2 separate regions of the Homo sapiens genome follow, and region 2 is linked to region 1. Evidence: promoter capture Hi-C in human tissues and cell types (Jung and others, 2019). All regions are on one chromosome and are shown on one strand. The core of a region is centred on a gene start or on the middle of the fragment in contact, and the rest is flanking DNA. Distances in the headings are between cores, read along the strand shown. Region 1 holds the start of RAB11FIP4 (RAB11 family interacting protein 4). Region 2 has its middle 69 kb from the start of MIR365B.

Region 1 (5,938 bases), core at 2,036-4,535:
GTGGTCATGAAAGGCTTCCGGTAGGAAGTGCCACTTCCACAACACAAGGACAGGAATTAGAGAAAGTGGAATTGGGTGGGGGTAGGATTGAGACCTCCCACCCACTAAGCAAAGGGAGGCAGGAGGGAGCCTGGATGCTCCCAGACTAGGGTTAAGGAGAGGCAGGAGAGTATGAAGACACTGCACAATGCCAGCTCAGGCAATGGTGGCCATTGAGTTTTCAGCAGGGGAGGGACCTGATCAAACTTGTTTCTTCCTAGAGAAGGGGCCGGAGTCCCAACTGTCCCTTCCATGTATATTTCCCAGTATATTTCCAGCCTGCCCAGGCTGCTGCAGCTGTTGGAAATCCCCTGGAGAATCAGAGGTCACCTGGAGGAAGCGGAGGACAGAAAGGAGGCTCCGCGCCTTCCCGCCCTATCCATGGGGACCTCTTGCTTTCCTGGAGCAACCCCCTTCACCCTGCAGCCGGCCCTGACATGGGTATTCTCTTGCTGCTTCTGCTCGGGGCTGCACTCTGAGCTCTTGGATCAGGGTTTTGGGAGCCCTAGTGGTCCCAGGTCCACTTCCAAGGACCCAAGGACTCCATAAATTGCACCATCTCTGAGGGACCTTTGGGTAGGCACTCAGCCATTTCTGCAGGCCCTCTTGGGCTCCTAGAGCCTGGCACCTCAGTGTAGATCACACTGGGCCATGACTGCCCCCATCAAGTTCAGCAAGTGGCTGCACCCCTTTCACTGTCTCCCTAGCATACCCAACACAACGTAGGTGCTCAACAAAAACGTGACAACCCCAGAAAGAATGCCTGTGACGTGCTTTGCTGGCCCCAGCAGCACAGCGGTGAGCAAGAGACCCAGTGCCACTGGTGGGGGAGGCAGGTGTCCTTCAAACCATCGCCCACCAGAGACAAAACTGCAGAGACCTGGGCAAGGAGAGTCCGGTCAGGGAAAGCTCTCCTGGGGGATTTTTGAATTTGTGATGATCCTGTCTTTGACAAGAACTGGCTAATCTGGTTGCGGGATTCTGTCTTGGTTCACTTGGGATTTGTTCATGCTCAGGTCTGAGGTCCCCGCCTCTGCCAGCTGAAGTGGGTGAGTCTTCCAGCTCCCCTGTCCCCAGTTAGGGGGCATTCAATGCCAGGCTGAGCGCGGAGAGCCATTTCTGCAGCCCCCACCAGGGGGCAGCCCCAGCTCCTGGCCATCTCCTTTCTGTGCTGAGCCCCTTGGGTGAGAGAAAATGGCACGAGCTGACCTTGGACGAACTAATATCGGGGTCCCAGGGGCAGGCAGCAGCCCCCAGCTTCCACTCCCTACCTCCTTGCCAGGGGGCTGGCTGGATCTCCAGCAGCCAGTCTCTCCCAGCCAGCTGCTTGTCCTTATTCTCCACTTCCACCTCCATTTTGCAGGGTAGGTCGGGGGAAAGCAGCATTGCTTAGATTCGCTCTCATCTTCAGTTGCCCTAAAAGGAAGGTACTATTATCCTCACGGTACAGGCGAGGAAACCGGCTAAAATATGCTAGTATCCTGCTGAGCGGCATCCAGCTAGCAGAGACGCTCCTACTCAGCCGAATACCCCTACTCCACTCCCACGGCCTCCCCTTTCCCGCTTTCTCACATTTCGGACTCCTCAATCCTCAGAACCACAGGTCTCTCTTCCCAAGAGGTGTTGCCTTTCGTGGCTCTCAGACGAACTGAAGGGTCAAAGGAGAGTAGCTAAAAGCCAGGTTCATCCCAGGAGCCGGGGCTGGAAAGAAGAGGTCCCCGCCCACTGTCAGAAGGCAAATGGCAGTCCCTGCGCAGGATATATTCAGGGTTGAGCAGGAAGACCACAGAGGTACAAACCGAGGCCCAGCTAGGGGAGGCCATGCAGTTCACCCCGTACTCCCTGTCTGCGCCACTACGTTGCTCCCGGCTCCTCACATAATGGGCGGGCCCATCCCCTCTGGGTGGGGCTTCCTCTGGGCCCACTCTTGCCTGGAGATCAGGGACTTGAAGGTAATTAAGACATATCTTGCCCTGGAGGGCTTCCCAGCATGGTAGGGGAAATGGGCATCCCACTAGAGAATTAAGAATTAACTGGGCACCTGGAAGAAGGGCTTAGAACTCAGAATAGAAGATAAGATGGCGTGCCATCAGAGAAGCCTTCCCGGAGGAGGAAACCTCTGTGCTGAGCATGACAGCATAGGTGGGAGTAGACTCAGCCAAGGCCTTTTTTTGGGTTGGGGCCAGTCGTTGCCACAAAGACCTGATGTGCCGAGCAAGAAGGTGGAGAGAAGAGCCCGGCCGGGTCCTGCAGGGCCCCGAGGCTGGGCTGGGAAGTTAGCACAAGCTGGGGTGGAGGCTCCGCTGAGCACTAATGGGAGGAGGCCAGGGTCCTGACCTAGAGCCTGCGGCCAGCGGGACAGAGATTCTGTCCTGGATTCTCTGAGCTTGGGGCATGCGGGCTGCCAGGGAGGTGTGATGGTGGGAACCCGGCGAAAGGGAGGAAGCCTCTTCCAGGCGTGGAGCAGCCTTGGGCCCTGAACAGGCAGGCCTCTGGAAGCGCCTCGCTTTTCCTCCCTCCGGCCTCATCCTGGTTTTCTCCTCATCTCCCCGTCGCAGGGTCCCGGGTCCAGGCTGGGGTTCAGTTGCCTGCTCCTCCTCTCTGTGCCCTCCCCCGCCCGATGGCCCCACAAGTGCTGTCTTGCAGGAGAGCGCCGGGAGACCGCAGGGCGGAGGTGAAGAACGGAGTCCAGAGCCCTCCAGAGATGGCAGCGAATCCCGGCCCTGCCTCTTGCCAGCTGTGTGGCCTAGAGTGAGTCCGACCTCTCTGGGCCTCAGCTTCCTCCGGGATGAATGCAGTCACGGAACGCGCCAATGCAGGAGGCCCCCAGGACATCCTGAGCGCTCGGGAGACGCCAGGCGCGGCAGCGGGCACGGATAGCGGAAAGGGGCGCGACCCCGCGGAATCCTCCGGCAGGGCAGGGCCTTTGGGTGGCTCCGGGTGTCCAGAGGAAGGGGTGGGCTCGGGGACGCGGAGGGAAACTGGGGACGCGGAGGGAAACTGAGGTCGCGGAGGACGCGGCCGTTGGCAGCTCGCTGCGCCTGCCGGCCCCGCGTGGGCCGCCCCACTCGGGAGGACGCGGGCTCCTTTTGTCTGCAGCGTCCCCGCCGCCGCCGCCCCCGCCGCCTCCCCCTCTCCCTCCCATTTTCGCCGCGGCCCCCGCCCCTCCCCTCCCCGCCCCCTATTGCCCCTCCTCCTTCCCCTCCCCACTCTTCTCCTTCCCTCCCCTCCCCTCCCTTCCCCTCCGGAGCGGCTGGGGCTGCGGCGCCGCTGCTGACACGGATCGGCCGCGGCCGCCACCGGGCGGAGGCTGCGCGGCGCAGACCCAGACGGGCGGCCCCGGAGGGCGCGCGGCGATGGCGGCGGCGGGCAGGCGGCGGGCGCGGCGGGCGAGGGGTCCGGGCTGAGCTGCGGGCCGGCCCGGATGGCGGGCGGCGCGGGCTGGTCGGGCGCCCCCGCGGCTCTGCTGCGCTCCGTGCGCCGCCTGCGCGAGGTGTTCGAGGTGTGCGGCCGCGACCCCGACGGCTTCCTGCGCGTGGAGCGCGTCGCGGCGCTCGGACTGCGCTTCGGCCAGGGCGAGGAGGTAAGCTGGCCCGACCCCAGTCCCGGCCCGGGGACCCCAGCCCAGCCCCGCCGCCCCTCCCCCAGCTCCCCCGCCGGGTCACCCGCGTGGCCCGAGGCGGTGGCCTCCCTCCCAATCCCCTCCCTCCGCCGGAGCCCAGGACCTCGGCCCCCCCCGGGTATCCCTGGCCCAGCCGGGCCCTCGCTTTCCGCCCCCCGGCGCCCGTGCCCCGAGCGTCACGCGTCACGCCTAGGGTGGCTTCTGCGCCCACCTTCCTTCCTCGGCCATGCAGGTCCTTCTGAGCGGTCTGCACATCCACCCTTGTCTGGGGGAGAGAGCTGCCAGAATCCGGCCCTAGGCTCCCCACCCCACCCGGCGCTGCGGAGACCAAGATGCAAGGGTCTGTGTACGTCCTGCTGGGCCGGGCCAGGGGGTGAAAGGGACCGGTAGGGGTGCTCTGCAGCCTTGGCTCCTCGGCTGCACACACCCTGCCCAGACACGGAAGGAGGTGTCTGCTGGGGCCACCGTGTACTCCCGGGCCAGTGTCGGGTGACCTCTCATTCAGGCTCTGCTGGGCAGCCAGGCTGGCAGCTGGCTGTGTTGGTTGCAGCAGGCCAGGCAAAGCCAGGCTCGGGGAGTGGTGGCTGAGCAGAGGGCTTTCATGTGGCGGGGCCGCATCTATTTGGGGAAAGCAGGACTTACGTAGATTGTTAACAGGGCTGGAAGCGGAGGGTCGGTGCCGCCAGTAGGGTGGACGGAGTCATATCACTAAACGCACACTACACCAGTGTCCTCTGGTGCCACCGGCATGGGGACTGGGGACTGTGTCTCAAGGGGAGGACAAGACACCCACCTGGCTGAAATGGTCAGGGGTTTCCCCTGGAGCCAAAAGCCCTGAGAAGTGGGTTTCCAAGGCCATCTAAGGCCTCAGGCCCTGCATGGGGGGCCTGGGGCCATGGGCCTCAAATGGGCACTGGCTGGCATTGTGTTCCCAGAACAGGTCGGACCAGGCATTTCAGAACATGGGAGAAGCTGGGTGATGGCCAGGTTGGGCCCGTGCCTCTGCGTCACCAGAGAGTGGGAGGCGATTGAGAATCATCTCTCCACCCGCACCTGGGCATGGGCCGGGACTTGTGAGTCGCTGAGAGCTGTGGGCAGAAGAGAGTGAGGCAGCTTCAGGGCTTGAGAACTCAGGTACCCACCACAGGAAAGACCACTGCAGTGCCTGTGAGAGCCCAGACTGCCCTCTGCGGGGCTTTGCTGAGGGACACTGCCTGCTGCCACCATGACCCTTCTTCCCCAAAGGCCAGCCAAGCCCTTCCGTTTTTCCAGTGGCTCCCATCTGGGGCAGGCTGAGCAGACTCCTGGCATGGGGATAGTCGCGCTCCTTCCTCTCAGAACACAGACTGCAGGTCGGGTAAAGAAGCTACCAGCTCTGGCTGAAACCTGGAGTCCCCGAACTCAGAGCCTCAGTAGTGGGAAGGGCCTCCCAACAACCTCTGGCAGGGGCCACCGGCCTCAGCCACGTGCCCAGCAAGCCTCACCCACTTCTCCCCCAGCTGGACAGTTCCTGCCATTAGAACCTTCTCCCTCATACACTCTAGAGACAGACCTGCTTGTCACTTAGTCATCACCGTTCTGCACGGGGACTCACATAGGTCTCTCTTCTTTGGGGGAGCCTTTAAATATTTGAAAATAGCACTCCTGCCCCTTCTCTCCTTCCCAGCTCCATACTCCCATTTTCCCTTCTCCAGGCCAAATACCCCAGTTCCTGAAGCCCTAGGCCATTTCCATGTGACCCAGTAGCCAGACCTCTGGCTTCTGGCCTTGGAGCTGCCATCGACTAATTCTGTGATTCAGTTTTCCTAGCAATAACATGAAAGGGCTGGACAAGCAGACCGCCCCCCGCCGCCCCCACCAGGACTATATTAGCCCCAAGACCTCACACATATGCACACAGCTTAGGGTGGGGCTGCCTCTGAATGGGGCACTGCACTCTGCTTATATTAAGTTTCTGGCCACCGAAACCTCCAGGGATCTGTTTTAGAAACCTCTGCCAAGCCAGGGATTCTCCACCCTTCGGGGAGGGTCAGTGATTTTTTTCTTTTAAAAGCATACTCTGAGATTACTACAGAAGCGGTGGATATGCATTGCAGAAAACTGGAAATAGGGACAAGCAAAATAAAAAGTATTGTGTCCTATCTCTCAGGCAGCGCCTCAATGACACTTCTGTCAGACCTTTCCAGAGCTGTTTCCATGCTTATATGTCAATTTTCTCCAGAAAATGAGATCATACTGTGCATACTGTTTTGTAACCTGATTTTTTTTGCCGGTAAA
Region 2 (5,920 bases), core at 2,670-5,169, 250 kb after region 1:
TTTTCTCATCCCTCTCTGCATGGAAAACCTTCTGCATTTCACCACGGAAGCAGCAACCCATTTTCTCTGGGACCCATCTCTAGCAGAGAGCTCTTCTCTTTCGCCTATTAAACTTCAGCTCTTACCTTCATTCTGGTGTGTCTGCATCCCAGTTTTCTGTGGCCGCGGGACAACAAACCTGGGGTATTACCCCAGACAACGATGCTGCTTCAACATGTCGTGCTCCCTTTTTTTTCTTGAGACGGAGTTTCGCCCTTGTTGACCAGGCTGGAGTGCAATGGTGCAGTCTCGGCTCACTGCAACCTCTGCCTCCCGGGTTTGAGTGATTCTCCTGCCTCAGCCTCCCAAATAGCTGGGACTGTAAGGCACCTGGCACCTGCCCAGCTACTTTTTGTATTTTTAGTAGAGGCAGGGTTTCACTATGTTGGCCAGGCTGGTCTCGAGCTCCTGACATCAGGTAATCCACCTGCCTCATCCTCCCAAAGTGCTGGGATTACAGGTGTGAGCCACTGCACCCAGCCTGTCTTGCTTTTTAAAATGGTTTTTAAAATTAATATGTACCATTGTCAGAGGTGTTTGAACCACAGTGACTCCATCTTGAATAGGGGCTGGGTAAAGTAAGGCTGAGACCTACTGGGATGCATTCCCAGGAGGTCAGACATTCTTAATCACAGGATGAGATAGAAGGTCAGAACAAGATACAGTCACAAAGACCCTGCTGACAAAACAGCTTGCAGTAAAGAAGCCAACCAAAACCTACCAAAACTAAGATGGCAACCCAAGTGACCTCTGGTCATCCTCACTGCTCATTACACACTAATTATAATGTATTAGCATGCTAAAAGACACTCCCACCAGTGACATAGTTTACAAATGCCGTGGCAATGTCAGGAAGTTGTCCTATATGGTCTAAAAAGGGGAGGAACCCTCAGTTCCAGGAATTGCTCACCCCTTTCCTGGAATACTCATGAATAATCCACCCCTTGTTTTGCATATAATCAGGAAATGACCATAAAAGTGGACAGCCAGCAGCTCTTGGGGTTGCTCTGCATATGGAGTAGCCATTCTTTTATTCCTTTCCTTTCTTTCTTTTTTTTTTTTTTTTGAGATGCAGTTTTGCTCTTGTTGCCCAGGCTGGAGTATAATGGCACCATCTCAACTCACCACAACCACCACCTCCCAGGTTCAAGCGATTCTCCTGCCTCAGCCTTCCGAGTACCTGGGATTGAGAGGTGAAGCCAGCTGGACTTCCTGGGTCAAGTGGGGACTTGGAGAACTTTTCTGTCTAAAGGATTGTAAATGCACAAATCAGTGCTCTGTGTCTAGCTAAAGGATTGTAAATGCACCAATCAGCACTCTGTAAAAACACACCAATCAGCGCTCTGTGTCTAGCTAAAGGATTGTAAACGCACCAATCAGTACTCTGCAAAATGGACCAATCAGCACTCTGTAAAATGGACCAATCAGCAGGATGTGGGCAGGGCCAAATAAAGGAATAAAAGCTGGCCACCTGAGCCAGCAGCAGCAACTTGCTCTGGTCCCCTTCCATGCTGTGGAAGCTTTGTTCTTTCGCTCTTCACAATAAATCTTGCTGCTGCTCACTTTTGGGTTTGCACCACCGTTAAGAGCTGTAACACTCACCATGAAGGTCCATGGCTTCATCCTTGAAGTCAGCAAGATCACAAACCCGCCGGAAGGAAGAAACTCCAGACACATCCGAACATCTGAAGGAACAAGCTCAGGACACACCATCTTTAAGAGTTGTAACACTCACCGCGAAGGTCCGCGGCTTCATTCTTGAAGTCAGCGAGACCAGGAACCCACCAGAAGTAATAAATTTCAGACACAGGATTATGGGCATGCACCACCATGCCCAGCTAATTTTGTTTTTTTTAGTAGAGATGGGGTTTCTCCAGTTGGTCAGGCTGGTCTTGAACTCCCGACCTCAGGTAACCCACCTGCCTGAGCCTCCCAAAGTGTATTCCTTTACTTTCTTAATAAACTTGCTTTCACTTTACTCTATGGACTTGCCCCAAATTCTTTCTTGCTCGAGGTCCAAGAACTCTCTCTTGGAGTCTGGATCAGGACCCCTTTCCAGTAACACTGTCATGATGAAGTGTGTGACACATTGTCAAGTGAAAAGAACAGGTTCTAAAATATTGATCTAATGTTGTTTAAAGATGTGTAGAAAAACTATAAGATTTTTTTTCCAAGGGTAACCTGTCAGTAGATCAATTGTTGAAATGACAATTATCAGTACCATATTATTATTATTATTATTATTATTATTATTATTAATGTTGTCTGTAGGCATTCAGGAGATAGCACAGAGGTCCTGCCCAATAATCCAGAAATCTCTTCATATTTTTACTGATTGTCATAATTACTGCTGTTTTGCATTTTATTATGATGGTTTTTTAAAAAGTTTCCTATAATAGATGAAGACTAGTGTATATATCTTCATTCTTCACTCTCTACCAGCATATTGTAAATACTTAATATTTTTAACCCTAAAGAAAATATGAACGATGCAAAAAAAAAAGTATAAAAAAGTATCTGAGGCCAAGTGTCGTGGCTCACCCCTATAACTGCAGCACTTTGGGAGGCTAAGTCCTGTGCAACGTGGCAAACCCTGTCTCTACTAAAAATACAAAAAAAAAAAAATAGCTGGGGATGGTGGCACATGCCTGTAGTCCCAGCTGCTTGGGAGGCTGAGGTGAGAGAATCACTTCAGTCTGGGAGATGAAGGTTGCAGTGAGCTGAGATAATGCTACTGCACCCCAGTCTAGGCAACAGAGAAGACTCTGTCTTAAGAAAAAAAAGAAAAAGAAAGCATCCGGAAAATAACACTAACATTAGCTTGTCTTTGGACAATTCGATTATGATTGAGTTTTCTTTTGCTTCTCTGTATTTCATCATTTTTCTATAATAAACATTTACAGATTGAACATGAGATAAGTAATTTTTAACCAAAAATGAACAAATTAACAGAATTAAAAGGCAAACAACAAACTAGGAAAAATAAATGCAATATAGTATATGTAATTGACAAAGGATTATGATTCATGACAGTTAATTTTACATGTCAACTTGACAGGGCCATGGAATGCTCAGATTAAACATTTCTGGGTGTGTCTGTGAGGGTCTTTCTGGGTAAGATTAGCATTCAAATTAGTGGACTTGGTAAAGCAGATTTCCCTCCCCTGCATTGATGGGAATCATCTCATCCTGGCCTGAATAGAACAAATGACAGAGGAAAAAGATAGGTTAAAAGATTAGTTTGGATCCTCTAGTAGAAGATCTCTCTCTCTTTCTTTCTCTCTCTCTCTCTCTCTGTCTCTCTATATATAGACCCCCTCAATGGTGGGGGTGTTGGAGAGCCCCAGTGGCCCAGAGCAGACTGTCAGATCCCAAACAGGGTGAAAACGGCATCCACAGAGAACTGGCCCACATGGGGTGCTAGAGGCAGAGCAGGGCGAGGAGGGGGCCAGTAGAGGAGGCCAGTGCAGCATGGGTGTGGGAGCCCACATAGAGTAAGGAGGATGTTCCCCCAAAGGGTGCCTGGTGCAAGAAGTCAGGCTTGAGAGGGTTGGGGTGGGGAGACACGCTAGCAGGGCAGGGAGGGCATCCACATGGGGGCAGTCCAGCATATGGTATCAGATCCCAAGCATAGCAAGGGGCATTTCCATGCAGGGATGGGTCAGGGAGAAGCCCAGCATGGGAGCTCAGTGTCTGAGTGGGGTGAGGAGCATGCTAGGCAGTGGGAGGTGTGGCTAAACATGGGATGCTGGAGCCTGGTGGGGTGAGGAGAGCGCCCATCCCAGTGGCCCAGTGAGTGATGTTGAAACACAGGTGAGGGGAAGAGAGTGTCTATGTAGGGAGGGGTCACTGGCACCTTGACACAAGATTTTAGAGCCCAAGAAGAGTGAAGGGGAAGGAGGCAGCACTGGTGATGGAAGAGTGACTACAAACAGGAGACTTGATCAAATAAAGATAACAGGAACCTGATTACCCTCTAACAGTGAAGACAGAGAAGGGAGTTACAAATATGGAAGAAAGAAAATGTTAATAAGTCCGGGGGCACTGGATTGAAATGAGAGGTATTAGTGTGAATTCATGATTTTTCAATACACATGTTGATATATAAATATAAGTGTGTATATGTATATAACATATAAATACATAGTTCCTAGCTCTGGACTGGGAGCAGTAACGCCCTAAGAACAATGAGCACATGTAATGCCCAGATTTTGGCTTCTACATACCATTCCCCAAAAAAGCAACCAGATCTCCCTGGGAAAGTGGCTGATTCTAAGACTTGCGGGGAGAGTACAAGATGAGCCTGAAAGCGAAAGAAAGTGCTCTAAGAATGAGAAATATGTCAACAGGGCGTAGCATTCACCTTCAAGGGCCCCTGCTAGCGAAATCTGTGGCAATTTAAGCATCAAAATAAATAATGAGCGCAACAGATTATAATTCATTAGATAAAATAACAAACTATGCATTTGTATGAATAGAAATGAATACATTGAAAGCCACTTGATAGGATGCAATAAGAACATGTTAGCACATTTGTGGTATCACTGCCAAAGATACATAACTGAATCCCGTCATGAAGGAACAACACACAAACCCAAAGTGAGGCACATGCTGCAAAATAGCTGGTCTATAATCTTCAAAAGCATCAAGGTAATGTTACCAAAACACTGGGCATTTGGTCTAGGTCCTGCTCCTCGTGGCACAGAAAGGCAATCACTGAGACACTAAGTATTGCCAAGGAAGAAGGCTTTATCGGGTGCTGCAGCAGAGGAGATGGGAGCTCAGCCTCAAATCTATCTCCCTGATTGACTAAAACTAGGGGTTTATACAGCAGGGAAGAAATGTAACAATGTATAAGAAAACAAGAACTAGGAAGGGCCAAGGAGGTATCTGGTGGTGATCAGGTGAGTTTCAGTTCTTTGATCCTTTTCTTGAGAGGCCTAAAGGTCCTTTCCTGAGGAAGGAAGTTGGATAAAACAGATACAAATTTCAAGCTGTAACAGCAGAAGGGTCAATTTCTATATTTATCCAAAAACAACTGTCTATGGGCCTACTGGGCAAGTTTCAGTAATATGAGTTTTGTCAAGACTGAGGAACTGGTTCAGACTGGAGTAGACTGAGGTTGGTCCTGAAGTGGATCCTTCTACTATAAAGAATATTTTGAGAACAGGAGGTCAAGCTTAAATAAAGTCTGAGGATTTGATGGAAGCAGTGTATTACTCAAGCTATCATAGCTGAATAACAGACCACTTAGTGAAATTTAGCACCAGACATTTGTGGGTCAGGAATTCAGAAAGGGCTCAACAGGGACAGTTTGTCTTTGCCCCAGGAGGTCTGGGGCCTCATCTGAGAAAACTTGAGCCTGGGGGTAATTCTATGGCTAGGGTCTCTGGAACCATCTAAAGTCTTGCTCACTCACCAGATGCCTCCTTGGCCCTCCCTACTTCTTATTTTCTTACACATTGTTACATTTCTTCTCTGCTATATAAACCTCTAGTTTTAGTCAGTCAGGGAGATGGATTTGAGGCTGAGCTCCCATCTCCTCTGCCGCAGCACCTGATTAAAGCCTTCTACCTTGGCAATACTTGGTGTCTCAGTGATTGGCTTTCTGTGTGACAAACTCACATGCCTGGTGCCTGGGTTGGGAAAACTCCAAGACCAAGACTGCTGACAGGGGCACCTACAGGTGTCCTCTCCATATATCCAGCTTCCTCACAACATGGTGGCCTCAGTCAGATTTCTTACATGGAGGCTGTGGGCTCCAAGAACAAATATTCCAGCAAACAAGGCAGAAGTTGCATCACCTTTCCTGTCTTGGCCATTGAAGCCACCTTCTGTTGGTTACAAGCAAGTCAAAAACCTGCCCAAATTAAAGAGGAAG

The links. The method cuts DNA at HindIII sites, captures the fragments that hold promoters and counts their contacts. A contact is called where the count stands out against the background at its distance.
Region 2: a fragment that was not itself captured here is called in contact with the fragment with the promoter of RAB11FIP4 in region 1 in 3 of the 25 tissues and cell types used here (IMR-90 fibroblasts, bladder and liver).

What each region holds. Positions count from the first base shown.
Region 1 is chr17:31,388,390-31,394,327 of GRCh38, forward strand. It overlaps RAB11FIP4 (RAB11 family interacting protein 4), which reads left to right and starts at 3,286. Exons shown (of 15, transcript NM_032932.6): 1 at 3,286-3,622. The coding sequence starts at 3,464. RefSeq lists an enhancer at 2,501-3,090. The HindIII fragment of the contact is 17,895 bases long and covers 1-5,938 here.
Region 2 is chr17:31,641,912-31,647,831 of GRCh38, forward strand. No RefSeq gene overlaps it. Among named protein-coding and RNA genes, the nearest start is that of MIR365B, 69 kb to the left of the region's middle. The HindIII fragment of the contact is 6,637 bases long and covers 602-5,920 here.